7 separate regions of the Homo sapiens genome follow, and all the other regions are linked to region 1. The links are contacts of gene promoters, found by promoter capture Hi-C in blood cells and fetal thymus (Javierre and others, 2016). All regions are on one chromosome and are shown on one strand. Each heading gives the region's core, a stretch centred on a gene start or on the middle of the fragment in contact. The rest is flanking DNA. Distances are from core to core; before and after follow the strand shown.

Region 1 (4,146 bases), core at 1,016-3,515:
ATCTTCCACTCCTTATACCAAAGCTCCAATTCTAACCTCAATAGGACTGAACTCTGTACCAGAGCTGCAAATAATTCTGCATGCCTTGGTGAGTGGGGGTGAGAGGAGGCTGTAGAAGAGAATAGTGCCGACCATACCATGCAAGTCCTTGTAGATATTTGGATTTTAGTACAAATACAGAGAGAAATCATTGTAGGATTTTCAGCAATGGAGTAACCTGATTTACATTTTCAAATTATCACATTTTCTATTGTGTAGACAATGGGTTAGACGAGGATAGGAGTAGAAATAGAGAAACTTGTTAGAAGGCTAATGAAGCAGCTCAGACAAGAGGAAAAGATGCCTCTATCATTAGTAATTAAGATGTAAAATGAACAGAATAGAGACACATTTTGGAGGTAGCACCAACAAGTCTTGACGAATAAAATATGGGAGAGAGGGAACTCCCAGATTTCTGTCTTGAATGAGTAGGTGTATGGAAGTACCATGAAGTGTGACAGAATAAGAGTCCAGAAATAAGCCCTAAGAAATTCTAACATTGGCCAGGCGCGGTGGCTCACACCTGTAATCCCAACACTTTGGGAGGCCAAGGTGGGCAGATCAGGAGTTCAAGACTAGCCTGACTAACATGGTGAAACTCTGTCTCTACTAAAAACACAAAATTAGCCAGGTGTGGTGGTGGGCACCTGTAATCCCAGTTACTCGGGAGGCTGAGGCAGGAGAATCAGTTGAACCCAGGAGGTGGAGGTTGCAGTGAGCCGAGATCGCACTATTGTACTCCAGCCTGGGTGACAGAGCAAGACTCCGTCTCAAAAAAATAGAAATTAAAAAAAAAGAAAGAAAGAAAAGAAAAAAAGAAAAAGAAGAAAAGAAAAGAAATTCTAACATTTAGAGGTCAGCTAGGATAGACAGAGACAGTGAAAACCCTTGAGGGGAGGCTATAAATGTGAAAGAAAAACCAAGAAAGAGAGGAGACAAGTGTATCAAATAGTATTGGGAGATCAAATAAAGCGCTGTCATATATGTACACTTACACACACAGAGACAGGATTAAAAGGTCTGACAAAAGGGAGGTAAAGTGGAAATAATTCCTCAGAAAAGATTGGCAAGTAAGGTGAGGAGACAGATCATTTCAACCACTGGGAAATAATAGCATGAAGAGAATGTGTCAGAAGTGATGTTTTAGGTGGGGATCTCAAGGCATGTTCAAATGCTGTTAGGAAAAATCCCACAGCCAGCCAGAAGTCGAAGATACAGGATTAAGGGAAATGACCAGTGGAACAAGATCAGTGAGAAGAAGAATGGGTAAAGGCTCTAGATCATATGTGGGAAGGTAAGTCTTTGATAGAAGGTGGCAGGAAGTCAACTTCTCAATAAATGGTAGCTTAAGATATTTCTTTTATTATTCATATTTGCATCATAGTCCACAGCTCCTGGTTTGTACATATTTGTATTGCAAGAAAGACTTGATGAATAAACAGTTCTAGCTAAAGATGAGGTCCTGAACTAAGTCTACCATCAGCAAAACCTGCAGCTGTTGTAGATTTTACTTACACTATGCTAAATGTTGTCCTCTGAAACTCCAGCTAATGTTGCATGCTTTGAAAAAAAGAAAAGAAATAGAAAACAAAATCCAAGTCAGTAATTGTGAAATGCCAGTAAAGAATGCAGTTTTGAAAAGTAGGGGTAGCGGGAGGAGCAATAACTTAATAAGAATCTTGCTGTTTGCGTATTTTCGATTTCTTGCCCACTAGGTGGTGGAACAGAGTCCCCATCTAAACGACAGTTTTTTTCCTCACAGGTTTGTGTTTCTCTCACAATGCCTACACAGGTCTTTGCAGGCCAAAGAAATCCAAGAAATTCAATCTCTTCAAAATTGCCCCTTGGAAAAACAGAGCGCTCGAATGACAAGTGTGGGGAAGGCGGGAGGCGACGATGCGGAGTGCGGAAACACAAGGACCAGGGGAGCTAAACTACATTTCCCAGAAAGCCACGGGCTGGCCTACAACCACCGCGCCCTCCAAGCCTGCTGGAAGCCTCCGTCTCGCTTCTCCAGTAACCGGTTTGCCGCTGTCCCCTTTTCTAAGGAACGTAGAGAAAGCCAGGGAAGGAAAGGCATTTTACTGCAGCAGCGAAGGTTTAGCCACTAGAGTGTCTTTCTCAGCCGTGGTTATTCCGACCTTCGCTTGTAAAGGCATTGGGAAACCCACGGCCCACGTGACCAGCCCGGGTCATGTGACTCCAGAACCCGGCAGCTGAAGTCTGTTACCCTGACAACTGGTGGACCCGCACAGACCTTCCGGGAAAGCGCGGAATTCAGAGGCAGAGGTAGGTGGTAAGGTGTGAACGCTGGTTTCCCACCCAAATCGCCCTGGTCGAGGCCGTGCTTCATACTCGAGCGAAGGGCTTTAATTTTCCAGGTCATTCCCCTTCTCCGCCCGGAGCCCACGGCAAATGCGTCTTTGTCTTCCCTCCAATTCCCGAACCCGCGCTTCTGGGGACGGGGTCGCAGCCAGGCTTGAGAAGCTTTTAGTGGAGCTCACCCCTGACCAAGCTATTCAGGCCAAGACCTTAACCGCACTTACCCTGAACTGATCGAAAGTGCAAATGAGGGGAAGAGGTGTTACTCTGCACGATGGGGAGGGTATTGTCCGGGTCTGCAAGCCCTCTTCCCCTCCCCCATCTCTACAGAAGAAAGCTGGGATTTGAGCTGCTCTAGGGAGTTCAGGAGCTGGGGGTCGACCCAAGGTTGGGTTCATTAGGTGTCTAGGGGAACGCTTTCCGTTGCAAATCACTGGATTCTGCTTGTGTTCAGCACATAATTTTTGTCGGTCTTCCCTCGCTTCAAAAGAAACATAGTACTGATTTGTGTACTCCATTAACTTTAAGTATTCTTTAAGTATTTTGACTAAATTACTAATTCTTACTAAATTCTATTTGTGTATATTTTGAAACATCCCCGTATCTGGATACAGTCTGCTTTACGAAACTATGCAGTCTGCTTTACGAAACTATTACTATGGATTGGTAAAATAACGAGCCGAGTGATAAGGCAGCACAAACTGTCGTGTGCTTTGCAAGAAAGAAACAGTCCTTTGGATTTGCTAACTTACAGTTTTTAAGATTCCCTGTGAGGACCTGGTTTGTGTTTGAGAGGTACTAATTAACACATGCACACAAACATAGGTTTGGGAAATATTGTAGAGACCACTCTTTAACAATTGGATGTTAACAGATGAAAACATAATTCTGAACGTTGAGTACAAGACATCCTGTCAAAGCTGCTTTTCCAAATCAGTTTGCTTAATGAATTAGGAATCTCTTGACCAGCTCTTACTGGTTAAAAAAAATTGTGCATATATACTGAATCATAACAAATGTCCGAAGTTTAAGTCTGGTCGTGTTCATGATCTGATGGATTTCCTCAAAAGATGTTTATGTCTCTTGTCATTTAGTGTTTCCAATGTTTGAGGTACTTTAGAATGTTTACTTTGGGAGGTCAAAATTGTTGACTATGGCTAACTGTTCCCAAGAAGAGCTAGATGAAGAGTTTGAACAGTTTATGAAAGAGGTAAGTTTATATTTTTAAAAGCTATATTGTCAAATTTGTCTCAAAAGACTCATCCTTCAATTCTGTCATCTCGAAGATACAGTTAGTCCATCACCAAACTCTGAATTCCCATCATCCCTCTAGCCCTGTCCCTTTTCTGCCACTGCTAGTTCAGTGCCATCATCTCAACTGGGCTATGGCAGCAGTTCTCAACTCATGGTCCAGCATTCCTTTCACCACACTGCAGTCAGACTCTGTTCCTCCCCAGTAAAAGACTCTATTGGTCTCCCATCACATGTAGAAAAAAAAAAACAAACAACTCCTCCTTACCATGGTTTTAAAGCCTTTCATGATTTCACTCTTACATATCTCACTGCCTTCATATCCCTCTTTCACCCACTTTATTTATTCCACAGTGGCCTTTTTTCTTTCCCAGACATTGCAAGCTCATTTCACCTTAGGAGCTTTGCACTCACTGTTCCCTCTGCCAATAATGCTCCTCCCTTACTCTTTACCTGGCTGGTGAAAATCTTAACTTAAATATCACCACTTCAGAGAGGCTTCTTCTGTTTATCCAGTAAAAGGTAAACACAAAG
Region 2 (4,146 bases), core at 1,005-3,504, 2.0 Mb after region 1:
CGTTGACCAGGGTAATCTGGAACTCCTGAACTCCAGTGATCCTCCCTCCTCGGCCTCTCAAAGTGCTGGGATTACAGGCGTGAGCCACTGTGCCCGGCTCCAATTATTTTTTTATTCACACATTCTCAGTTTCACTTATCCCTCCAGTTTGTTTGCTCTTTGAGATTTGGAAGTGGGAATTGGCAGAAAAGAAAAGATTTAATTGGGGCACTGTATAGTTTGCATTTAACTAGTAAGCAAGCTGAGTAAGGACACATTCTGTATTTCTATTTCTACCCTGGATACTGCATTGCAGGTTAACAGTGATAATTCCATTCTAAGACTTTATTCATCTTCTAAAATAAAAATGAAGATTTATATCATGAACTTAGCTGTGATTTGTATTCCAGTTTAATGGGCTTTACCCTAATCACTAGTGTGATTTTGTGTCTATGAAAAACAAAGTATTGAAAGTTAGTGTTCCTGTACAAAGAGTAATATCACATTTGCAACATTTAGAACCTTTGTATGTGTGGATTAATAATATCTTACATTTGATACAGTTCTATATATTATTTTCATGGAAACTAAGTAGATATGGCCGGTGGTGTTTTACTCATTTGGCAGTTAAACTTTAGCTGCTAAAGAAACAAGAAACAGCCTGGGCAGAGTGGCTTATGCCTGTAATCCTAGCACTTTGGGGGGCCGAGGTGGGAGGATCACTTGAGCCCGTGAGGTGAAGACCAGTCTGGGCAACATAATGAGACCTTGTCTCAATTATTAAAAAAAAACAACAACAAAAAAAAAAGAAGCAAGGAACAAATGTTTGATTGCTTGCATTGAGACAGGCCTGTACTATGATTTGGATTTTCTATTTCTAGAATTACCTAATATCATATTAATATATTCATTCAGAGAAGAGCGTTGGCATCTTTCTAAATATTGTAGTTAAATTAGTTCTTATATGTGTTTTAAAATATAAAAAAGTATAAAAACTAATTTTTATTTTAGATCCTACAGATGTTTATACTTGGGGCGATAATACAAATTTTACCCTGGGTCATGGAAGCCAGAATAGCAAACATCATCCAGAGTTGGTGGATCTGTTCTCCAGGAGTGGGATTTATATCAAGCAGGTATTTTTGAAGTACAATCTATATACTTTTAGAGATGAGAAAGAACTTTTGTATTTGATTGTTCAGCTTTTCATGTGGATTACATAACTTTGTTTCAGGTACAGTAACATTTTAATGAGGAAATCAATCAATAGAACTTTGCTAATTTTATTTTAGATATTGTTAGCCTTAATTATATTTAGACTTTGTAAAATACCCTAAAATATAAGATATTTGTGCAATTAGTGTTAGAAATTAGAAAATGTTATACAGATAGTAGTTTAATTTAAGAGGGTAAAGCTTCTCTTGATTTTCTAGCTTTTCTATTTAACAAACATTACAATTCTGTAAGCTGTTTCTCAAGTGAATTTGTTGTTGAAGCTCAGTGTTATTTTTGATAAGTGAACAACAGTTCTTTTTTTTTTGGTGGCATTAAAAAATAAAATAATTTCAATTTAGAAAACAACACACTTCTTGCAATTTTTTGTAACAAAATAATGTTTTTAGGTTCCAAGCTATTTATCATGAAGAGAATATGTTTAATCTTATGTGAAGTTGGATGACAGCAGTCTGGAAAGGCTATAGAGTTTTTTAACTGAGGGTCTGGTAAACTGCCAGTCATTCTATTTAATTATTTGTATTCACACTGACAAGCAATAAATAATTAAATGTCTAAGTCTCAGTTCTCAGTTTGGATAGTAGATAGAACTAAAATTTCATCACTTATGGAGACAGATAAGCAATGTTTTGGAAGTGTGGGGTTCAAAAATTTGCCCTTAGATGCTTAGGCACGAGTGATGCTTTTTGTGAACCTGAGTTCTTAAATGTAAGTAATTGTAAAATTTTAATAGATACAATTGTAAAGATTTGGTCTGTGGTCTTATATCCTTACAATGCATGATATCTTCTACTTCCCCAGATACAGCTACTGTTGACAAATCTTTCTGTATTACATTGTGTATATGTGTGTATGTATGTGTATCTCTAGCCCCAGTCTTTCTCTTGAACTTTATTTCAGTTGTACTGTGGGTATTCTTTCAAGATATTTAAATTTAGAATGTCTGAAGTGTTATTTTTGCCACTCCTAAACTACCCTATTCAATTTTTAATGTTATAAATCTCAAATTCTAAATCCTGAAGATGATACCTCAGAGCATGTCTATTTAGTTCTTTTCTGTCTCATGAACCTAGGTGCCATGTCCTTTTCAAGCTCTTTTTTTGGACAGTGACAACAGTGTCCTAATTTGACTTTTTGGCTCCATTCATTTCAACCCCAATAATATTCTTCTCCAGAATTATTTGTCTTAAAAAAGAGCTAATTATGTGTTTATCTACTAAGTCACCTTTGGATAAAGTCCAAACTCTGTGGCTTGGAATGTAAGAACTTTTTCAGTCTTCCTAAATTACCATTTCAACTTACATTTCCTACAACTTCCTAGTTATATTCTTTCTGCATTTTGAAGTTCATAAAACTTCTTTGATCCAGAATATGAGCTTGGAGTGTTTTTATCACTATAGTACTGGCTCTTTCCAACTTTCACCTATTATTTATATATGACATACATAACAACACTTAGTTTATATCCTGAGATTGAATTCTTAGACAGTTTTTAGAGCTACTTTGACAACATATCCCTAGTTTGCCCAGGACAGTTCTGGTTTATGATTATTTTCCTAGTGTAATTGTTAGTATCCCCTTTCATTCTCAAAAATGTTTGCATGATAAATAATATGACCACTATATTTAGGGCTCCATAGAACACTATTTTTTAAACTAAAAGTCACAACCTAATGCATCACAACCAGCAATTGAACAAAAAAAGCAATAGAATCCTTAAACTCTAGAGAATATTAAATTTTGAGAGAACAGGAATAAAAACCCATATAGGAATGAAAAGTGGCTAGAGAAGTAGGGAGTAGAATGGTGTCATGAAAGCTAATATTCTTGTGGGTCTTCTCTGTAGATGTGGAGGGAACTTAGGATAATGAAAGGACTTGTGATGGGCGAGAATCAAGCTTGGTGTCCAAGTCTTTAGTGAATGTGAGAGGGGTGAGCAAGATGGTGAGAAATCAGAGCAGGGGCAGCAAGTGTACAAGCTGCTCACCTAGTCTAGAGCTTTTTGCAGACATGCTAGTCAGTTTTTTTTTTCTCATGCTGAGCTTGAGTGGGTCCTCAGACTCCTCCTTAAAATGATAATCCAACCATTAGCAGCCACTAATGATTGATTGGAATTGTGGCACAAGAAAGACACCTGTTTTTCCTTTTTTGAGGTAGTACATGATATACCTTTATTTCATGAGCTGTTACGGAGCAGGGATTTTAAAGACAAGAGTGAGGGAATCATGATGGCATTAGGAAATCAGAGGGTGATTGAAATGTCTGATCCAAAGAAATATATAGTTTGGAATATTTGAGCATATTCCATTTGCCAGGGTTGTGAGTGAACTAGTGTACTCAAAGAGAAAGCCACATTTCAGGTAAGGCAAGGCAGTGGGCGTGTTTTGTGAAGGTATTAAGGATCTAAGGGATTTTATTTACCACAGAATGAGGGTGAAGCAAGCACAGTGGGTAGGTTTGAAGGAAAGAAATCAGTATAAATTTCAGTCAGGGAAGAGAAAGCAAGTATGGGAATATTAATTGAGTACCAGTTATATAGAGAGCCCCATTTGTTATTGAAAAGGGGCTGATTCTATATTATACAGTACCAAATTAATTAACTACCATGAGACAGAGATTATTAATGTTAGTATTATATATTCCAGATAATTAAAAGCGAAAATCCATGCTCAGTTCTTATTTAAAAATTCAGGGGTTTTAGGCTGGGCGCAGTGGCTCATACCTGTAATCCCAGCACTTTGGGAGGCTGAGGCGGGCAGATCACGAGGTCAGGAGATCGAGACCATCCTGGCTAACACAGTGAAACCCCATCTCTACCAAAAATATAAAAAATTAGCCAGGCGTGGTGGCGGGCACCTGTAGTCCCAGCTACTCGGGAGGCTGAGGCAGGAGAATAGCGTGAACCCGGGAGGCAGAGCTTGCAGTGAACCGAGA
Region 3 (4,146 bases), core at 1,495-3,994, 2.0 Mb after region 1:
ATTCTTGCCTAACCTTCTGGGGATGCAGCCCAACAGATCTCAGCCTCATTTTACCCAGCCCCTATTCAAGATGGAGTCACTATGGTTCAAATACCTCTGACATCCCCCTACACCAGTCAGAAGTTCAGACCTCCGGAACTCCTGACTGATTGGCTTCAAGTTGGGGTTCCCATGACTCCCTCTTTGAGTTCTATTAATTTGCTGGAGTGGCTCAAAGAACTCAGGAAATAATTATATTTACTGTTTTTTTGTTTTGTTTTTGTTTTTGTTTTTGTTTTTTGAGACAGAGTTTTGCTCTTGTTGCCCAGGCTGGAGAGCAATGGCATGATCTCTGCTCATTGCAACCTCTGCCTCCCGGATTCAAGCGATTCTCCTGCCTCAGCCTCCCGAGTAGCTGGGATTACAGGCTTTTGCCACCATGCCTGGCTAATTTTGTATTTTTAGTAGAGACGGAGTTTCTCCATGGTGGTGAGGCTGGTCTCGAACTCCCGACATCAGGTGATCCGCCTGCCTCGGCCTCCCAAAGTGCTGGGATTACAGACGTGAGCCACTGCGCCTGGCCTACTGGTTTATTAAAAAGGATATTGCAAAGGATACAGATGAAGAGACGCGTAGGGTGAGGTATGAGGGAAGGGACGTGGAGTTTCCATGCCCTCCCTGTGTGTGCCACCCTCCAGGAATTTCCATGTGTTCACCTATCTGGAAGCTCATGAACTCTGTCCTCTTGGATTTTTATGGAAGCTTCAGGACATCAGCATTCCTTCCCGCAGGGTATAGGGTGGGACTCTCTCGTGGGAGGGTCTTAAGACCCAGAGTCAGAAAGGTGCGGAAACTATGGAAGAAGGGCAGGAGAAGGTCAGAGGCCTGTTCCTGAGGTCTAACATACCCAACTTTATAACAAATGACTGTAACAAGGGCTATGGGAGTTATGAGCCAAGAGCTGTGGATGAAAACCTATATATATATCACAACACCACAGGCTGTTACTTTTTCCCAATCTAGCCTCTTATCCACTTTTCAAGGACTCTTCATAAGTTCTGGACCTTCAATGGCCAAGGTTCTTGTTTTCCAATGCACTGATAAGTTTAAGTATGTTAAGTATGTTTTCTTTTCTTTTTTTTTTTTTTGAGACAGAGTTTTGCTCTTGTCGCCCAGGCTGCAGTACAGTGGTGTGATCTTGGCTCATTGCAACCTCCATCTCCCTGGTTGAAGTGATTCTCCTGCCTCAACCTCCCGAGTAGCTGGGATTATAGGTGTCTGCCACCATGCCCGGCTAATTTTTGTATTTTTAATAGAGATGGGGTTGTACCATGTTGGCCAGGCTGGTCTCAAACTCCTGACCTTAGGTGATCTGCCTGCCTTGGCCTCCCAAAATGCTAGGATTACAGGTGTGAGCCCCCACACCCGGCCTAAGTATGTCTTTTCTATCAGTCCTAGGGATTTATGGCATGAAGAGAAGGCTCCAACCACTATGTATCAAACTCACTCTTTTTCTTTCTTCTCTCTCTCTCTTTCTAATAGTGACAACACAGATTTAATTATTTAGCTAAGTAGAAAAGGAATAGGAGCAATTCTCAGTAAGATGGGCTGAGAAAGGCAAATGATACATTTTTCAGTCATCGTAAAGGGAAGACTTTTAGGAGTTCAGTGTTCTGATTGTAATAGAATACTAAGCCTGTTAAGTTTATAAGTTTGATTTATCTCAAAGTTCTGCTTATTTCATCTAGGCTTTGAATTTACCTTGAATTTCTCCAGTATTTGCCTTGAATTTCAGATTTTTTTGGTGGACTATGCTTTTAAACATAAGATTCTAAAGTTACATTCAAATACTGCCACCTTGTGGGTTATTCTTTGTTTCCCCATCCCACCCTTTAATTTGGTGGAAACAGATTCATCCAGGCAGTTCATTTCAGGTTATGTCAATTAAGTTGCTAAGAGTTGTACTAAGAGCTTCATATATATAATATATACATTATATTATATATATATATAAAATCTCATTTAAACTTCTTAAGAACTTTATGAAAGCAATACTATTAACCCTATTTCAGAGATGAGGAAACTAGGCTTAGAGGGTTTATGTAACTTGCCTGACATCTCACAGATAGTAAGCATAGGAGTAAAACTTTATATCTGGGCACCTTGCCTCTAGAATCCTTGTCTCCAGGAGTAAAACTAACAAATCTAAAAATAAAACAGTGTGATACATTATATGACTAAGTGATAGAAGCAGTATAAAGGGAATAATTGCTAGGAAAGGCCATCCGGAAAGTCTTCACAGATATGTGGGGAGGTGACCCTCTGTAAGTAAGGATTGGAAAGATAATGATTCTATAGGAAGAACGCAGCTGGGACCATACACCTGAATCCAGAAGAACACAAACACCCTATGTGGCCTATTGTTTTGTCTGCCTCACCCTGCTTTCTTTTGGGGAACTACTCTTCACTCTGCTTTAACCATGACTCTAATAGAGGATGTCAATCATGTTATCCTTGATTCCTCACCTAATCCAAGCCGACATGAGTCCGTCAGGTGCCTAGAACTTTTGTGCTTGAGATAATAGGCTCAGTGCTATCTTCCCTAATGGCAAACCTGAGGTGAGATATGTGATTTATGTGAGGTACTTAATTTGTGTGCCAGAAAGTTGTAGTCAACCAGTGATGTCCTGTAGAAGATGGTGTGGAGTAGAAGAGAATGAGGCTAAACAATAAGGTTCCAGTCATCTCTAGGCCAGCTGCACTATTGATCTTCCTCTAAAAATCATTCTTGTAGAACCTAATCAGGTTTGGGTTTCTAATCAAATTCTAGTGTTTTCTCTTCTGCCACCAGCACTGTCATTTCCTACTCCTATACAACTTGAAAGACAGCAAAATACACATAATGATGTCAGTACTTTTAATTATAAAGGATAGTACTACCAATTTATTTTGGAAAAATGGTATTTAGGGAGTTTATTATAGATGCCATGTGGCTTAGAAATATTTCTGCAGTGCTCCACTCTTGATGCCTGTACTATTCTTTTTCTACTCCCTCCGCCCATCACTGCAATCTTTTTATTTATTTATTTATTTATTGAGACAGAGTCTCGCTCTTTCACCCAGGCCGGAGTGCAGTGGCGCTATCTTGGCCCACTGCAATCTCCACCTCCCAGGTTCACGCCATTCTCCTGCCTCAGCCTCCCGAGTAGCTGGGACTACAGGTGCCCGCCACTGCGCCCGGCTAATTTTTTTTGTATTCTTTAGTAGAGATGGGGTTTCACCGTGTTAGCCAGGATGGTCTCGATCTGCTGACCTCGTGATCTGCCTGCCTCGGCCTCCTGGGATTACAGGCATGAGCCACTGTGCCTGGCCCATCACTGCAATCTTTTAAAGTCATCTCTGGTTTTTTTATTTTTTACTTTAAAAAATAAAACTACTTTAGAAACTCTAGTCAATTATTTTTCCAAACTTTGATTTTTTTAATCATTCAAGTAATATTTAAATTATTGCAATGAAAATTACAAAAGTCAAAATGATAGAAATTAAGAATCACCCATAATCCCACCATAGAAACAATCATTGTAGATATATTTTGACCTATTCTTTCATGTGTAAACACAAAATTTTTTTAAAAATCAAACAAAATGGCTCATTTTGATTTCTTCCTCCCTTAACCACATCTACAATATATTTTTCATTTAATTGTATTTCATTTGTACTATTTCCTAATTATTTTAATATTTTGTCTTGCAAATAACCAGTAAGTACTTTTGAAAGCATCTAACTTTCCTGGGAAAAGGGGAGCAATTCTACATTCCTTTGACTGGAATGTTATTTCTTTCCTGCTTCATCTACTTATCTCCTCGTTATCTAGTTATCTGAGTTATCTTCTGCTCAGTCTTTAGTTCATGTGTCACATCTTTTGGAAGTCAGATAAATCTATCAGATTAATACTTATAAACGTTGCAATTTATTATGCTTGGGAATATCTGGGTCTACATGTATTTTTGTTCACTGTTGGATCCCCAATGCTTACCACAAATTGTCCGAGACCTGGTAATTTTAACTTTTATTTATTACTATTTTTTGAGACAGGATCTCACTCCGGTTGCCTAGGCTGGAGTGCAGTGGCGTTATCTTGACTCGTTGCAGCGGCGTGATCTTGAC
Region 4 (4,146 bases), core at 935-3,434, 1.4 Mb before region 1:
CAGTGAGCTATGATTGTGCCACTGCACTCTAGCTGGGCAAGAGTGAGACCCTTTCTCAAAAAAAAAAAAAGAAAAAGTTATTTAAAGTTATTTGCACTGTGTCTTTATTATGCTTATATCCATATTTTTCATAACTGAAGGCCATACCATCAATAAAAACACATTGAGTACATTAAAAATATGGATATGAGCAGTAACAAAAATATAGGCCAAATAACATCATTATTATTATCATCATTAATTATTTTAGAGACAGGTTCTCACTCTGTCACCCAGGCTGGAATGCAGTGGCCTAATCATAGCTCACTGCCACCTTGAACTCTTGGGCTCAAGGGATCCTCCCACTCAGCCTCCCAAATAACCAGGAGATCCTCTAGCATGTGCCACCAAGCTCAGCTGATTTGTATTACTTTTTATAGGGATGGGGTGTCACTATGTTTCCCAGGCTGCTCTTAAACTCCTGACCTCAAGTGATCCTTCCACCTTGGCCTCCAAAAGTGCTGAGATTACAAATGTGAGTCTCCTCACCAAGATGCTTTTTTTTTTTTTTTTAAGCAGTGAAATGAGAGCTCACTGTGTAGCCCAAGCTGGTCTTGAACTCCAGACCTCAAGTGGTCTTCCTGCCTCAGCCTCCTGAGTAGCTGGGATTATTGATGTGAGTGGCCACACCTATACCAAATAATTTTAATCAACCACTTTTTTTTTTTTTTTTAAGACAGAGTCGTGCTCTGTCGCCAGGCTGGAGTGCAGTGGTGCCATCTCAGCTCACTGCAACCTCTGCCTCCCGGGTTCAAGTGATTCTCCTGCCTCAGCCTCCTGAGTAGCTGGGACTACAGGCGCATGCCACTACGCCCAACTAATTTTTGTATTTTTAGTAGAGACAGGGTTTCACCATGTTGGCCAGGATGGTCTTGATCTCTTGACCTCGTGATCTGCCCACCTCAGGCTCCCAAAGTGTTGGGATTACAGGCGTGAGCCACCGCACCCGGCCCTAACCTGTACTTTTGTATAAAAGTAGTTGATTAAGGCCGGGCACGGTGGTTCACACCTGTAATCCCAGCACTTTGGGAGGCCAAGGTGGGCAGATCACTTGAGGTCAGGAGTTCGAGACCAACTTGGCCAACATGGTGAAACCCCGTCTCTACTAAAAACACAAAAATTAGTCGGGTGTGGTGGCACGCACCTGTAATCCCAGCTACTTGGGAGGCTGAAGCAGGAGAATTGCTTGAACCCAGGAGGCAGATGTTGCAGTGAGCCAAGATTGTGCCACTGGACTCCAGCCTGGGTGACAGAGCAAGACTCCGTCTCAAAAAACAAAATAAATAACAAAAGTACAGTTTGGGAATTGTTGCTAATAGTTGATTAGTTTAATTGCTTCAATGAGAACATAAAGCATTAAACACAGTAAACTACTCTGGAGCAATAGTAAGGTGTACTCCTTGAGATACATCGTAATTCTGACTTGAATTTCATTGCTGATGGAGATTCTGAGTTTATGTTACATTTCTTTTTCGAAAGTGAATGTACACTGACTAGCCCTTAAAAAAAAGAAAAAAAGCAGCCGGGCGTGGTGGCACACGCCTGTAATCCCAGCACTTTGGGAGGCCAAGGCGGGCATTATCACTTGAGGTCAGGAGTTCAAGACCAGCTTGGCCAACATGGTGAAACCCCATCTCTACTAAAAATACAAAAATTAGTCTGGCTTGATGGTACACACCTGTAATCCCAGCTACTCCGGAGGCTGAGGCAGGAGAATCGCTTGAGCCCAGGAGTTGAAGACCAGCCTAGGCACAGCAAGACCCCATCTCAAGAGAAAGAAAGAGAGAGAGAGAGAAAGGGAGGAAGGGAGAGAAAAAGAGAAAGGAAGGAAGAGAGGGAAGGAGGGAAGGAGGGAGGGAGGGACACAAACATTGTTCTGAGTTTGGCCTCATGCCCAGAAACGTCAGGATAGTTTTGAAATTCATGGACTTGTCCCCACATATTGATGTAGCTCACTTTCTTGAAGGATATTGCTTGCTTTCAATTCAATCTGTTCCTCAGGAGATTGAACCATACTGATAGACTAAGTGTGTGATGATTCAGAAATATACCAAGGTTTGCATTCATTTGTTCATTGAGCAAATATCCTGAATGCCTACCATGTATAGGTACTATCCTAGGCACTAAAGATACAGTAGTGAACCAAACAAAAACCTCTGCCCTTGTGGAGCTTACATTGTAGGAAGAGGAGAAGGACATTATATAATAAATAAATTATAAGCTATGTTAAAAAATGAGAAATGACACAGAAAAAATAGAATATGAGACATTGGGAGTGGGTTTGGGGAGATAATTAGTGTTGCAGTTTCAAATGGGGATTCTCTCATCTGAGAGGCAATTGAAGTAAATGGGGTTGACAGAATAGGCTTCAATGAAAAGTTGAGATTAATTAAGCAGAGATTTAGATATGTGCATAGCTCAATCTCTCACCTAACAGAGGGTGAGAGATTGATCTGTGCATATATCTGGGAAAAGGGCATTTCCATAGCAGTGGCCCATAGGAAGGAGCATGCATAGTGAGAAAGGAAGCAAGGCCTGCAGCTTATGTAGGGCTTAATGGGTCATTGAAAGGATTTCATTCTTAGTCAAATGGGAACCACTGTGAAAGAAAACACAGAAACTCCAAGTATGATTCATACACATCAAAATCTATGAACCCTACCCCTAGGGCCCAGATTGTGGCCTCTAAATACCACTTACCACTAAAAGGAAACAGATCTGAGACAGGAAATGTACAAGATGAGCTTGTTGTACGTTGCTATAACAGGTAGCAAGACTGCTGGAGTTGTGTTAGAAGAACTCAGGAGGCCAAGCACGGTGGCTCACGCCTGTAATCCCAGCAAGGATTACAAAACAGGCAGATCACTTCAGGTCAGGAGTTTGAGACCAGCCTGGCCAACGTGGTGAAACCCCATCTCTACTAAAAATACAAAAATTAGCTGGGCATGGCGACGGGTGCCTGTAATCCCAGCTACTCAGGAGGCTGAGACAGGAGAATTGCTTGAACCCGGGAAGCGGAGGTTGCAGTGAGCTGAGATCTCGCCACTGCACTCCAGCCTGGGTGACAGAGGGAGATCCATCTCAAAAAAAAAAGGAACTCAGGAGTAAACTTGGAGAGTCTCTCACTTTCCAAAGATAGAAAATTTGACTATTATTGAGGTGTAATAGAGAAAAAATAGAGAAAAAGACATGTCTTCAAATCTATGAATTCAGAATGATACTTTAAAAAACTGAATTTAATATAAGTGTTAAAGGATGCTAATCATCAGTTTCAGAACTGCAAATAAAGGGACTTTCCAATACCAACTGTACTGACATAACCAAATAAAAGGTGATAAAAAGTTTGTCTTTATTGATATATTCCAGTTAACAATGAAAAAAGATTGGCATAATTAGAAGATCATCATTTTGCAACATTCTAATGAATTAATGTATAGGCAATAAATATCAATGACTGCTAACATCCAAAAAAGAGGTGATAAGATATTATATGTCCCTGAAGAAAGAATTTGCCTCTGCCTATTTCAGACTCTTGTCTGAAAACAACAAAAATGAATATGAATTTGATAAAGCCTCTGGATATAATTACTAATTTATAGATTACAAAGACATATGTTAAACTACATTACAAAGATACAATCAGCAAAATCCAGACTATGGAAAACTCTACAAATGATTTCTATAACAAATAAATTGCAAGGAAAGAAACCAACCAAACGAGATGAATGGGTAACCTACAAATCAAGAAACTGAAAAGATATATCAACATTCTCAATGTTTGCATCCCAGTTGGATTCTCATTCAATATTGTTTTAAAAAATGAATTTATGAGATATATGTTTAAACACAGGCTATTTCATGTATTAAAAAATAATTGGGACTTTGTTAGATGTGATAATGGCATTGTGGCTCTTTTTGTTGTTCAAGAGGCTGTATCTTTTAGACAAATATACTGAGTTATTTATGGATGAAATGATTTGATGTCTGAGATTTGTTGCAAAATAATACAGAAAACAAAGGAAGTGGTTGAAGGGTAGAGATGAAACAAGATTAGCCTGAAGTTGATAATTGTTAATGTTGGATGATGGGCTCTTTGGAGTTTATTAT
Region 5 (4,146 bases), core at 1,438-3,937, 1.4 Mb before region 1:
CTCTACCTTCACGAGATGAACTTTTTAAACTCCCACATATGAATGAGAACATATGATATTTCTCTTTCTGTGTCTGGCTTATTTCACTTAGCATAACGGTCTCCAGATTCCATTTATCTTGCTGCAAATGACAGAATTTCGTTCTTTTTTATGTCTGAATAATATTCCATTGTGATATATACCACATTTTCTGTTATCCATTCATCCATCAATGAACACTTGGGTTAATTTCATATCTTGGCTATTTTCTCACTGTTTTAATTTGCAAGTCCCTGATGACATATGATATTCAGCATGTTTTCATATGCTTATTTACCATTTGTACATCCTCTTTGGTGGGCTATGTGTTTAGATTTTTTGCCCATTAAATTTTTTTTTTTGCCAGGCATGGTGGCTCATGCTTTTAATCCCAGCATTTTGGGAGGCTGAGGCGGGTGGATCACTGAGGTCAGGAGTTCTAGACCAGCCTGTCCAAAATGGTGAAACTCTGTCTCTACTGAAAATACAAAAATTAGCCAGACCTGGTGGCAGAAGCCTGTAATCCCAGCTACTCAGGAGGCTGAGGCACGAGAATTGCTTGAACCCAGGAGGTGGAGGTTGCAGTGAGCCAAGATTATGCCACTGCATGCCAGCCTGGGTGACAGAGCAAGACTCCTTCTCAAAACAAAACAAAACAAAACAAAAAAAACAAAACATTTTTTTTTTGTTTTTTATTTGCCTAACACTTGATATCAACGTTTTTGCCAATTTTTCAATTAGGTTGTGTGTTTTCTTATTGTTGAGTTTTAAGAATTCTTTGTATATTTTATTGAATAACAGCCTTTTATCAGATATGTGTTTTGCAAAGATTATTTTTTTTCCCTAGTCTGCGGCTTGTCTTTTCATTCTCTAGACAGTGTCTTTCTTGGAACAAAAGTTTTTAATTTTTGATAGGGCAGGCTTTTTATTACTATGAAAATAAGATGTGAGAGATAGTGCCGCCGGGCGCGGTGGCTCACGCCTATAATCCCAGCACTTTGGGAGGCTGCGACGGGCGGATCATGAGGTCAGGAGATTGAGACCATCCTGGCTAACACGGTGAAACCCCGTCTCTACTAAAAATACAAAAAAATTAGCTGGGCGTGGTGGCGGGCACCTGTAGTCCCAGCTACTCCGGAGGCTGAGGCAGGAGAATGGCGTGAACCTGGGAGGCGGAGCTTGCAGTGAGCCGAGATTGCACCACCGTACTCTAGCCTGGGCAACAGAGCAAGACTCCATCTCAAAAAAAAAGATGTGAGAGATAGTGCAAAAATTTTCTTGATTACTAGAAAGATTAGGTTGAATGGCTTCCATGGTCTCTTTCAACACTAGCTTTTTATGGTTCTATGGAAAAAGTAATGGTGTGCTGTGAATTTTTACCCTGTGAATTGAAGGGTTCCCTGGCCCATTATAAAATTAATATATGTTAATGGCAGGAAGTTTAGAAAATGCAGTAAAGAAGAGAAGAAAATATGCAAAAAACAAAACAAAACAAACAAACAAACAAAAAACAGTGTGGCAGTGTGGCATTGACTGGGTGGAAGAATTTTGGATAAGTAAAAAATCCAAACAGGCCTGCCTACATTCCTCTCTTTCATTAGTTGCCAACTCAACAGGGCTGCATCTTCTCACTGTTTCAAAGCTTACATGGACGAAAAGACAGCAATGAAACTAATGAATACTCTGTCGGGAGCAGTGGGTCACGCCTGTAATCCCAGCACTTTGGGAGGCCGAGGAGGGTGGATTACCTGAGGTCAGGAGTTCGAGACCAGCCTGGCCAACATGGTGAAACTCTGTCTCTACTAAAAACACAAAAATTAGCTTGGTGTGGTGGTGGGTGCTTGTAATCCCAGCTACTCGTGAGGCTGAGGCAGGAGACTCGCTTGAATCCAGGAGGTGGAGGTTGCAGTGTGCTGAGATCCCGCCACTGCACTCCAGCCCGGGCAACAGTGTGAGACTCCGTCTCAAAAACAAAAAACCAAAAAACGAGCCCTGGCGCAGTGGCTCACGCCTGTAATCCCAGCACTTTGGGAGGCTGAGGCGGGCTGATCATGAGGTCAGGAGTTCGAGACCAGCCTGGCAAACATAGTGAAACTCCCAACTCTACTAAAAATACAAAAGAATTAGCCGGCCATGGTGGCGGGCGCCTGTAATCCCAGGTATTTGGGAGGCTGAGGCAAGGAGAATCACTTGAACCTGGGAGGCGGAGGTTGCAGTGAGCCGAGATCACGTACTGCATTCCAGCCCGGGCGACAGTGCGAGACTCCGTCTCAAATAAAAAGAAATGCCAGAATCAAGGGAAGGCCAGGCTGAAGCCATAAAGTGGCTGAGATGAGCTGGGGAGACAGGTGGGACAGATCTTAGAGAGCTTTGTTGATCTAGTTAAGGATTTTGGCTGTTGTTCTAAGTGTAATTGGAAGCTAATGAAGGGTTTTAAGCAGACACGCCATAGGATCTTACTTGCAATTAAGATAGAGAAGGTCAAGGGAGGGAGAGAGCCTACACAGGAGACAGAGAGTCATACAGAAAGACAGATGACTTGGGCTTTGAACAGATTAGGACAGCTGTAAGAGTGGATGAATCAGGAGGCTATGCCATTAGTACAGGTGGTAGATGATGGTGGCTTTGCCTGGGTGGTTGCAACATAGAGATAAATGGAGATATATTTGGGAGACAGAATTGATAGGACTTGATTAACTGATATGGCAGTGTAGAGAAGGAAGTGCCTTGAATGATCCGCTCCAGCAATTCATGTGGGGGATGTTAATTGAGATGGGAACTCTGTAGACGGAAGACTGGGGGAAGATCACGTGCTCAGTTTCTTGAAATGCCCATCTGGAGTGCCAGAAAGCCCACATAAACATTGAGGGCGTGGCTAGAGAAAGGAATTAGATGTCAGAGAACAGCTAGAGATTTTAATTTGGGAGCTTTGCCCAGGTTAAGGCACTTTAAAAAATTTTTTTTAATACCCAGGAAGGTCTAAACAAAGTGTTACATGTTTCAGACTCATTTTTATTCTTTTTTTTTTTGAGACGGAGTCTCGCTCTGTCGTCCTGGCTGGAGTGCAGTGGCGCGATCTCCGCTCACTGCAAGCTCCGCCTCCCGGGTTAACGCCATTCTCCTGCCTCAGCCTCCAGGGTAGCTGGGACTACAGGCGCCCGCCACCACGCCTGGCTAATTTTTTTGTATTTTTAGTAGAGACGGGGTTTCACCGTGTTAGCCAGGATGGTCTCGATCTCCTGACCTTGTGATCCGCCCGCCTCGGCCTTCCAAAGTGCTGGGATTACAGGCGTGAGCCACCGCGCCCGGCCAATTTTTATTCTTGTTTAATCCATGGTATGACTCTTATTTTCATAGTTTTCTATTAAACATTTTGTTTTTCATGTATATCATTAACCACGACCTCTGCATTGTGAACAAAAATCCCTATGGCTGAAGCAGCTGAATATCACATATGTTTGATAGTAAGGAATCTGGGGTGGTGGAGATCTCAAATCCTTACTAAACAGGTTGGCTATGTGGTGCTTTGGCTAAAACATACTTCATATCTGATCCAAGTAGCTATGAAAATAATCTAGCATTTTATGTGCTTGTGCACTTTGAAGAGTGTTTATCTAACTTTTCCTCAAACCACTGATTTGTTATCATAGCACAGAGCTCATCTGGGGAACCAGTAAGCTCTTAAAAATAAGCTTTTTAATCAAAAGGACATTGTTTCTATTTTTCATTACAGCTGCCCTGGATAAAATTAGTATCCATATCGCGTCTGTAATTCAAATGCCTTTGTCTTGTCTTTCTTGTACCTAGTAAACGATTATAAAGGAAACGTCATTTCACAGAAGATTTAGTTGCCAAGGTTTTTTTTAAAAGAAACACAGACATTTTTCTCAAAGTTGTTCTAACCACGCAGCTTTGTGCTGTTTCAAGTTGCTCAAACTGTGCCAGGAGGAAGCCCTTAACTGCTTAAAAGGCCAGGGACTGAAACGGAGTATTGCACAACCCTTCACCACCGGGCGGTTTCGCTTCCAAATCTGGCCTTCGTGTCATCCCAAGGCAGGAGCCGCTCCTCGCTCCACTGGAGCCAGCCCCGTTCCCCCTTCAAAAGCAGCCGGGGTTTCCGCGTCCAAG
Region 6 (4,146 bases), core at 1,094-3,593, 1.4 Mb before region 1:
ATTTTAGGACAGGTTTGTTTACTTAAAGTAAGAACTGCATTGTCAAAGTTGAAAGAGGAACACTTTTGTGAGTTCACAAATGTGTTCTTAAGAAAACATTAAAATATGGAGCTCTGGGTTTTCAAGACTATTTGGCATTCTTAATTTGGGGACTTGGGAGGGAAACTGATAAAAAGAAATTGAAGAATTGATGGTTATACTTAAAGAAGGGTAATGTAAACAGTGGTGATGAAATATATACACATCAAGTGAAATTACTTGACAGTGTTCATTTGAATGACTTTGAATTCAAGCCATTATAATTACTTTTAAAATTAAATATCATTTGCACTGTTCTGATAATGGGTGCAGTTTTTGAGCAATATAATCAGAGCTAAATATGCATGTAGTGATTAGTGATGTGAACAATTAACGTTCTGAGAAGAAATACTAACTGTGGTATTTTCAAACTTAAATTTCTGTAGTAAAATCAGTATCAAAGTCTTATCAGATCAAGGAAAAACAGGCAATGCATATAAACATACTTTTGAATGTTGTGTGGCCTATAAAGCAATAATGCAATTTATATGGAATGTCATGGGATATGAGAAATGGAAATGCAAAAATAACTAATCCTTTAGTAAAAATGTCAACATGTTAAAGGGGGAATGTTAACTAATGTAGGTTATTGCTATTTGTGATTTGTTTATGGGTTCTTGGCTTTGACAGCTTCAAAGAATGGACAGTGATAAGTTAAAAGAAATTTTGTATATTGTCAAGGAAAGGGTCTTAAATCCGAGTCAAGTCCCTTCCTTGGGGTAAAAAATGTATTCTTAAAGCATTCTGATGTTAAAAAGAAAACTTAAGTTATCTAACCAAAACAGACGCAAGATTTTGTTTCTGCAGACTACTTGGCAATCAAAAGTGATCATAAATTTAGGTTATCAGTTTTCAGAAAGTTGCTTTGTGAGAAAATTTTGTTAGATATATTCTCCCAAGCATGCTTTTTGTGGAAGGTTTTCAGCCATTGCCACTGAATCAGATGTTAAAAATGAAGGGAAAATTGAGTGTGCACACACACAACTGTTGTACACTCATGATTGCAGTTTTTAGCTTAAGAAACTTTTCTACCAGTTACTGTGAATCTGACTTAAAATGTAAAGTTTCCTCATGATAAAATAGGAACAACATAGAAATGGATTGATGGGGTGATCTGAGTTATTGTATATAAAAGTTTTTAAAGAATAGAATGAACATCAAGCTAGATAGGCAAAAATTGACACATTCAGAACAGCTTTTTTGACTGCGAAGCCAAAAGTTGTCAGAAACAGCAAAAGATCCCTTATTATTACAGAGTATTTTACGTAGTCTCTATTTTAAGGAGAGAAATTAAATAGAAGGGCTTCATGCATTTAGGGGAGGGTGCTAAAACTTCTCAAGTTCGTCAAACTTACAGGAATACCCACCATGATCATTTTCTCTCTAATTATGTATACCACAAAATTTTCATCTGGCCATAGGAATTCACTGGTGGGTGTAAAATTAATGACTAAAGAAATTAAGTGACAAATACATAAAAGAAACAGACTTGTGGGGATATTGTTTTAAGGTGTATTAATTACTCAGTGATGATACCACTCAATAGGGCATGCCACTACTTTTCTTAAGATGCTAATTATGAAGCAGTGCTCACAGGCATTTTTTAACTAGCAAATTAGTAGATGGACTTTTGGGGTCTGTCACTTTTTAAAAGTATTTAAGACTTAAATTCTATTAGCACCACAGTCTGCCTTCAGTAATACACCTAAAATATTTTTCAGGACCAGAAGCATTCAGTTTGAAAATTTGCAGATGCAAACCAGTATTATTACTAACGCTCTGGGTCAAAGATTAGGTTTTTAATATTAACAGTAGTCTGGTAAATATTTAGAAGTCTGGCATTGAGAAACAAAAGCTTGTACCTGACTAGTATTTTTATTTAAAAAAATTAGTTCTGTTAGCTTATTTAAATTGTGTTTTATTTATCCGTAGAATTTATATTTATTTCATTCCTTTCATCTCACTGAAAACTGTCTGCAGGCCCTTTGATTTGGATTAGATGTGTGAAGTACTGTCTTTTGCCAAAAACCTCAAATTACCTGTTCTTTTCAACGTAGTGGGTTTGTGCTTGTTTGGAGATCAGTTCAAAAACTATCTGTACTATCTGTACTGCCTCTGATGTTAAGATTTTATGTATAGCATAAGGAAGCTAGCTCTGACTATATTTTCCTAAGAATAAAGACCTATTTTTGTAGCATGTCTTAGGATCTCCAGGAGTCCAAGAATTATTGTGGGTGTCCTCCAATTCATCACTCTTCACTTAACAGCTTTTAAGTAGACACTTGGAATCTTTAGAGGTCTGTCGCCCTTTGATTATCCATACATTCGAAGTAACTAGCCAATGGTGAAAAATTCCTCAAGATATCCTCAGTTGCAATCACATTACTGGAAGATGAATAGAATAAATGTATTAGGCTGGTCTTAATTTTTGATGGAAATATTCTGTTGTCCCGTACTTGCCATTGGATTTGATAAAGTTAGTGGTAATTTGGAAAGAATCGGGGACTTGCCAATATATTTGTGGGTTTTAGCTTATACCCCTAGGATTTCTTGGTTGCGGGACGAGCAGTTTTGGCCACTTCCATCAGGACAAGACTTTTTAGGTCACTTAGTGCAGGTTTTAGTTTCTATTTTGGATTAACAACATTTATATTGATTATCGAAAAGAAGCTTTCATCATTTCAGAACAGTCCTGGAAGTTTGACTTTGAGTGTGGGAGAAGTCCTAATAAACCATTTTGGAAATTAGTGTCTCCAAGTGTTACAGCTTCCTAAAATGGGTTTCTAACACAGTGGGATCAAAATAAGGTTATTTTAGGATAATATACTGTAAACTTAATTGACTGTCTGATTTTCTACTTTGTCTATAAAGTGGCTTACAACAGGTTCTAATCTAGAAAGGAGTTATAAAGGTTATCTGTAATGTTTATGAATTGTCATTTCTTGCCTTCTTTTAGGCTTTCAGCTGTATTCTGAAAAGGAGATTGTTGTGACAAACTCAACTTGTTTTGGAGAGAATTTTAGGAAACCTAAGGGATTTGGCGTTTTATATCATTTTTGATGTGCAGTTTTTGAGTTTTCAGGGCAGAAGGGCAAAGTATTTGGTGTGGACAAGTTGTTACCACAGATTAAAGAATAAGACCAGGGCTTGCTGACAATAAGAAATTTGTTAAAGAGTTTTGTAGGTTCCATATGGTAAAATTAGGTCTTGTAATTATAGAAACACCATGATATACAAGAAGAGTTCCAGCATACCTGTTATGGCTCGTTAATAGTGTTAACTTTAAGTTGAAATGTGAATAACATGGCATTTGTGTTACATGAGTACTGCATCATTTAAACACAAATTTGCTAAAGCTAGGTGCATCTGTATACTAAAACCCTTATGACATCATTTTTAAGAGAATATCTTTAATATGTCAGTATTTATGTTAATTGGTTGCTTTAATTGGAAGACTCAGGAATTAGGCCTCCAGTTGCTTTTAGTTTAACACGTCATGAAAAATTAGAAAAGCATATGTACAAATTGTATTTCTCAGTTTTATTTAATATTTGGAATATACTTAGAGGAAAACCAGAAATAAACAATGTTAAAGGTCATCTATAAAAATGGCAGAATACACTTTTCATTTCCACTCTAGAGCCACATGTATACAGTGTAGTTTTGGCAAATTTCATTCATACCTCTACCTCCTTTGCTGTTTTCCTTGAAATAGTAAAAATTCACATGAATTTGCAGAAATTAAGTTCTTAGGAGTTCTTCAACAGTATTAAAGACAGGTTCTGTTCCCTTTTGGTTTCCTGCCTAACTACAGGTACAGTTAAACATGGAATTAAAAGACAGCCTTTATTGTAAAATTGTCATGTAACAGATCCTAGTTGATCTCTGGTTTCCTGGAGATTTATTTAGCATTTGGGAGAGGATCAACAAAGGGGCACAGCAAGCAGATACTGTAGTTAGTATTATTTTTCCCTTTTTTGCTTACTGTCTATCGATTAGTCTTTAAATTACTAGTACATTTTATGATAAATTTCTTTGATTTATTTTACCTCCTTTTAGAATGGAAGC
Region 7 (4,146 bases), core at 522-3,021, 1.4 Mb before region 1:
TGGAGTGCAGTGGTGCGGTCTCGGCTCACCGCAAGCTCCTCCTCCCGGGTTCACGCCATTCTCCTGCCTCAGCCTCCCGAGTAGCTGGGGCTACAGGCGCCCGCCACCACGCCACCACGCTACCACGCTAATTTTTTTGTATTTTTTTTTTTTTTTTTTAGTAGAGACGGGGTTTCACCGTTTTAGCCAGGATGGTCTCGATCTCCTGACCTCGTGAGCCGCCTGCCTCGGCCTCCCGAAGTGCTGGGATTACAGGCGTGAGCCACCGCACCCGGCCACATCCCTATAATATTCTTAAGAGGACTTGATGCCACCCTCCCCAAAAAAACCTGAAATATTCCGAAAGGTTAAAATTGATAAATTCAATTGACATTTTGAAATCAGAAGATTCTGCCCCCGAAATAAACTTGTTTTACTTCATTTTACTATTTCAAGAAATTGTTGCGATGCAATAGGTAGTAGAGGAGACTTTTCCATTAAAATTAACACCAGATTTGCTTTTGGTGGAAAGAAATCTGAGATAGTTCTCATTGACAGCATCCGCAAGCTGTTTTCTCTGATGTTTTGAACAGGCAACCATTCTTACTCTTTATCTTAAGGTAGTTGATTCCCAAGGATAGCAACAGGGAGGAATGCGCAAGGAATTTGGTAACTTCATTTTTCTCTGGTGTAACCATTATTTGTGACTATGTTGAAGTTAGATTTCTTCCCTAAAAGTGGCCTTGCTTTCTTGTTGATTCTTGGTTTAAATATTATTGAGCTTAAATAGTAGTTGATGTTTTACTGAGAAGTGTGCTCTGTGATGGTGAGATGTTTGAACTGTAGGAGTGTGGGAGAAGTGGGATCCTTAACAGAGGGAACACTAATTATTATTTGCTTTCTGTCATCTGGAAGGTATTCCAAGCTAGACTAACAGGTTTAGTATGAAAGAAATGTAAGCTTCATATGATTTTTATTTTTATTTTTATTTTTGAGACGGAGTCTCACTCTCTTGCCCAGGCTGGAGTGCAGTGATGCGGTCTCGGCTCACTGCAACAGCCACCTTCCAGGTTCAAGTGATTCTCATGCCTCAGCCTGCAGAATAGCTGGGACTACAGGTGGGCACCACCATGCCCGGCTACTTTTTTTACATTTTTAATAGAGACGGGGGTTTCACCATGTTGGCCAGGCTGGTCTCGAACTCCTGATCTCAAGTGATCCACCTACCTCAGCCTCCCAAAGTGCTGGGATTACAGGCGTGAGCGACTGCACGCAGCCCATATGATTAACTTTTGTCCATGGATTCTTACCTACCTCTTTTGGGAACTGGGTCAGTTTAGGTTTCTAAGGTAGGAGAGCCATCTAGTAGGAGCAGGTTAAACTAGATTTCTGAGGTCATCTACTTATGGTCATAACATTTAGTGTTGTGTGTTATTAAAAAGTCATAGGATGCCATCTGATCTGTATACCATCTAACCTGTACCCTGTATTTCTTTTATGCAGAGAAGGTAGGAAATACAGGTAAATGTTACCTGAGTGGTTGGGTTTATGAGTGAAGCTGTTTTTGCATATGTTTTGGTGTTTTCCATTTGTTACTGCTGTAGTCAGCAAAAGTGATTTTAAACACTAGAACTGTCTTGAATAAAACCATGATTATGTATCCCTTTTCCAGGAAAAATCTTTTGGAAGGTGCCAGATGGTGTATGTAGCATGCTTTTCAGTGTATATGTGTGATTAAAAAAAAAAAAACTTATGTGTGTATTCACGTACACACACACACACACAGATGATAAGAGTATCTCTGAAATGTTGTTATACAAGAAAACATGGGCCCTTCTGAGATGGGGTATACTAGGTACATCTATTCTGAAATAAAAAATAATTTTATATGAAGTTGATCCTTGAACAGTGCAGAGATTAGGGCCACTGACCCCTATGAAGTCAGAAATCCGAGTGGAATACCATGGGATCCATACAAAGTACCACTAATGATACTGGGAGTACTCCCAAGAAGCAGAGAAAAGTAATGACATTACAGAAAAAGTGAAATGCTTGGTATGTACTATGGATTGAGGTTTGCAGCTGTGATTGCCTGCCATTTCAAGATAAATAAATTGAGTGTAAGGACCATTGTGAAAAAAGAAAAGGAAATTCATGAAGCTGTTGCTGCAGCTATGCCAGCAGGTGTGAAAACTTCGTACTTTTTGCAAAGTACCTTTTCATGTTTTATTGAAAATTTAGCTTTTATGTGGGGGCAGAATTGCTATGAGAAAGGCATACATATAAACTAATGCTATTCAAAAACAAGTGAAGTCATTGTATAACAGCTTAAAGCAGAAGGAAGGAGAAGGATCTAAAACTGGGTAATTTAATGCCAGCAAAGGATAGTTTGATAATTTTAGGAAGAGATCTGGCTTAAAAAATGTCAAGAGAACCGGAGAAAAAGCCTCTGCTGACCAACAGGCAGAAGATGAGTTCCCAAACACCATTCAGAAAATCATTGAGGAGAAAGTATTAAATATATCTTCCTGAGTGGGTGTTTTTTTGTAAAAGCAAGTTTATTAAGAAAGCAAAAGAATAAAAGAATGGCTACACCATAGGCAGAGCAGCCCTGAACAAGCTTTTAATGCTGATGAAAGTGACCTGTTTTGGAAAAAATGTCACAAAGGACATTTATTAGTAAGGAAGAGAAATGAGCACCAGGATTTAAGGCAGGAAGGTGTACGCAAATTCTTCTATTTTATGGATATGCAGTTGGGTTCCTTGTCTATGAAGTGTCTAACCCCCGAGCTTTGAAGGAAAAAGATAAGTACCAGCTGCTAGTCTTGTGGTTGTATAAGGAGGCCTGGACAACAAGAATCATTCTTTCTGGATTAATTTCATTGATGCTTTGTCCCTGAAGTCAGAAAGTACCTTGCCAGCAGGGATTGCCTTTAAAAATTCTTTTGATACTGGACTATGCCCCTGGCCACCCAGAACCCCATGAGTTCAACATCGAAGCTGTGGAAGTGGTCTACTTGTCCCCAGACATAATGTCTCTAATTCAGCCTCTAAATCCAGGGGTTCATAAAGAACTTTAAGGCATTACACATGGTACTCTATGGAAAGGATTGTCAGTGCTGTGGAAGAGAACTCCAATAGAGAGAACATCATGAAAGTTTGGAAGGATTACACCATTGAAGATGCAGTCATTGTTATAGAAAAAGCCGTAAAAGCCATCAGACTTGAAACAATAAATTACTAGTGGAGAAACTATGCCCAGGTGTTGTGCGTGACCTCACAGGATTTACACCAGAGCCAATCAAGGAAATCATGAAAGAGATTGTGGATATGACAAAAAAGGTCTTTCAGCATAAGGATCTTACAGAAATTCAAGAGCCAGTAGACATCACACCAGAGGAATTAACATAATATAACTTGATAAAGATGAGTGCTTTGGAACCAGTGCTAGACAGTGAGGAAGAAGACTTTGAAGAAACAGTGCCAGGGGCCAAATGCAGTGGCTCATGCCTGTAATGCCAGCATTTTGGGAGGCCAAGGTGGATGGCTCACTTGAGCCCAGGAGTTCAAGCCTGGGTAACACGGTGAAACCCTGTCTCTACAAAAAATACAAAAAATTTAGCTGGATGTGGAGGTACACGTCTGTAGTCCCAGCTACATGGGGGGCTGAGGTGGGGAAGATCAGTTGAGCCTGGGATGCAGTGAGCCATGATGGCACCACTGCACTCCAGCTGGGATGACAGAGTGAGACTCTATCTCAAAAAAAAAAAAAAAAAAAAAGTGGTGCCAGAACACAAATTGACAGTAGACAATATGGCAGAAGGTTTTCAATTATCAAGACTGCTTTTCACTTCTTTTATCACATGGACCCTTCTTTGATACTGGCACTGAATCTAAAGCAAATGGTAGAAGAAAGATCAGTACTATATAAAAATGTTTTTAGAGAAATGAAACGGCAAAAAGTCGGGCAGAAATCATGATGTACTTCTATAAAGTCGAGTGTGCCTGCCACTTCTGCATCCCCTTCTACCTCTTTCACCCCTGCAATTCCTCAGACAGCAAGACCAACCCCTCCTCTTCAGCCTACCCAGTGTGAAGACAATGAAGATGAAGACCTTTGTGATAATCCACTTCCACTTAATAGTAAATATATTTTCTCTTCCTTAT

Evidence for each region. The method cuts DNA at HindIII sites, captures the fragments that hold promoters and counts their contacts. A CHiCAGO score of 5 or more calls a contact.
Region 2: a contact is called between a fragment that was not itself captured here and the fragment with the promoter of CEP162 in region 1, in 1 of 17 cell types (total CD4 T cells). The highest score is 6.0, in total CD4 T cells.
Region 3: a contact is called between a fragment that was not itself captured here and the fragment with the promoter of CEP162 in region 1, in 2 of 17 cell types (total CD4 T cells and non-activated CD4 T cells). The highest score is 6.0, in total CD4 T cells.
Region 4: a contact is called between a fragment that was not itself captured here and the fragment with the promoter of CEP162 in region 1, in 1 of 17 cell types (non-activated CD4 T cells). The highest score is 5.2, in non-activated CD4 T cells.
Region 5: a fragment that was not itself captured here is called in contact with the fragment with the promoter of CEP162 in region 1 in 3 of 17 cell types (naive CD8 T cells, fetal thymus and naive CD4 T cells); the score reaches 9.7 in naive CD8 T cells.
Region 6: a fragment that was not itself captured here is called in contact with the fragment with the promoter of CEP162 in region 1 in 1 of 17 cell types (naive CD8 T cells); the score reaches 5.9 in naive CD8 T cells.
Region 7: a contact is called between a fragment that was not itself captured here and the fragment with the promoter of CEP162 in region 1, in 2 of 17 cell types (naive CD8 T cells and fetal thymus). The highest score is 7.2, in naive CD8 T cells.

Annotation. Positions count from the first base shown.
Region 1 is chr6:84,225,762-84,229,907 of GRCh38, reverse strand. CEP162 (centrosomal protein 162) reads left to right here and starts at 2,265. Exons shown (of 27, transcript NM_014895.4): 1 at 2,265-2,328; 2 at 3,456-3,571. The coding sequence starts at 3,515. RefSeq lists enhancers at 1,790-1,949, 1,851-2,351, 2,352-2,852. The HindIII fragment of the contact is 5,497 bases long and covers 1-2,528 here.
Region 2 is chr6:82,228,687-82,232,832 of GRCh38, reverse strand. IBTK (inhibitor of Bruton tyrosine kinase) reads left to right here. Exons shown (of 29, transcript NM_015525.4): 4 at 991-1,115. Among named protein-coding and RNA genes, the nearest start is that of IBTK, 17 kb to the left of the region's middle. The HindIII fragment of the contact is 1,716 bases long and covers 1,397-3,112 here.
Region 3 is chr6:82,249,819-82,253,964 of GRCh38, reverse strand. No RefSeq gene overlaps it. Among named protein-coding and RNA genes, the nearest start is that of IBTK, 4.1 kb to the right of the region's middle. The HindIII fragment of the contact is 4,001 bases long and covers 744-4,146 here.
Region 4 is chr6:85,668,533-85,672,678 of GRCh38, reverse strand. No RefSeq gene overlaps it. Among named protein-coding and RNA genes, the nearest start is that of SNORD50A, 6.8 kb to the left of the region's middle. RefSeq lists a silencer at 482-682 and an enhancer at 2,948-3,469. The HindIII fragment of the contact is 8,939 bases long and covers 1-4,146 here.
Region 5 is chr6:85,644,079-85,648,224 of GRCh38, reverse strand. No RefSeq gene overlaps it. Among named protein-coding and RNA genes, the nearest start is that of SYNCRIP, 3.3 kb to the right of the region's middle. The HindIII fragment of the contact is 2,050 bases long and covers 1,663-3,712 here.
Region 6 is chr6:85,606,463-85,610,608 of GRCh38, reverse strand. It overlaps a transcript of SYNCRIP not described here. Among named protein-coding and RNA genes, the nearest start is that of SNX14, 15 kb to the right of the region's middle. The HindIII fragment of the contact is 815 bases long and covers 1,936-2,750 here.
Region 7 is chr6:85,588,839-85,592,984 of GRCh38, reverse strand. The region is part of intron 1 of SNX14 (sorting nexin 14); the gene reads left to right. Among named protein-coding and RNA genes, the nearest start is that of SNX14, 2.9 kb to the left of the region's middle. RefSeq lists enhancers at 1-50, 51-636. The HindIII fragment of the contact is 1,660 bases long and covers 942-2,601 here.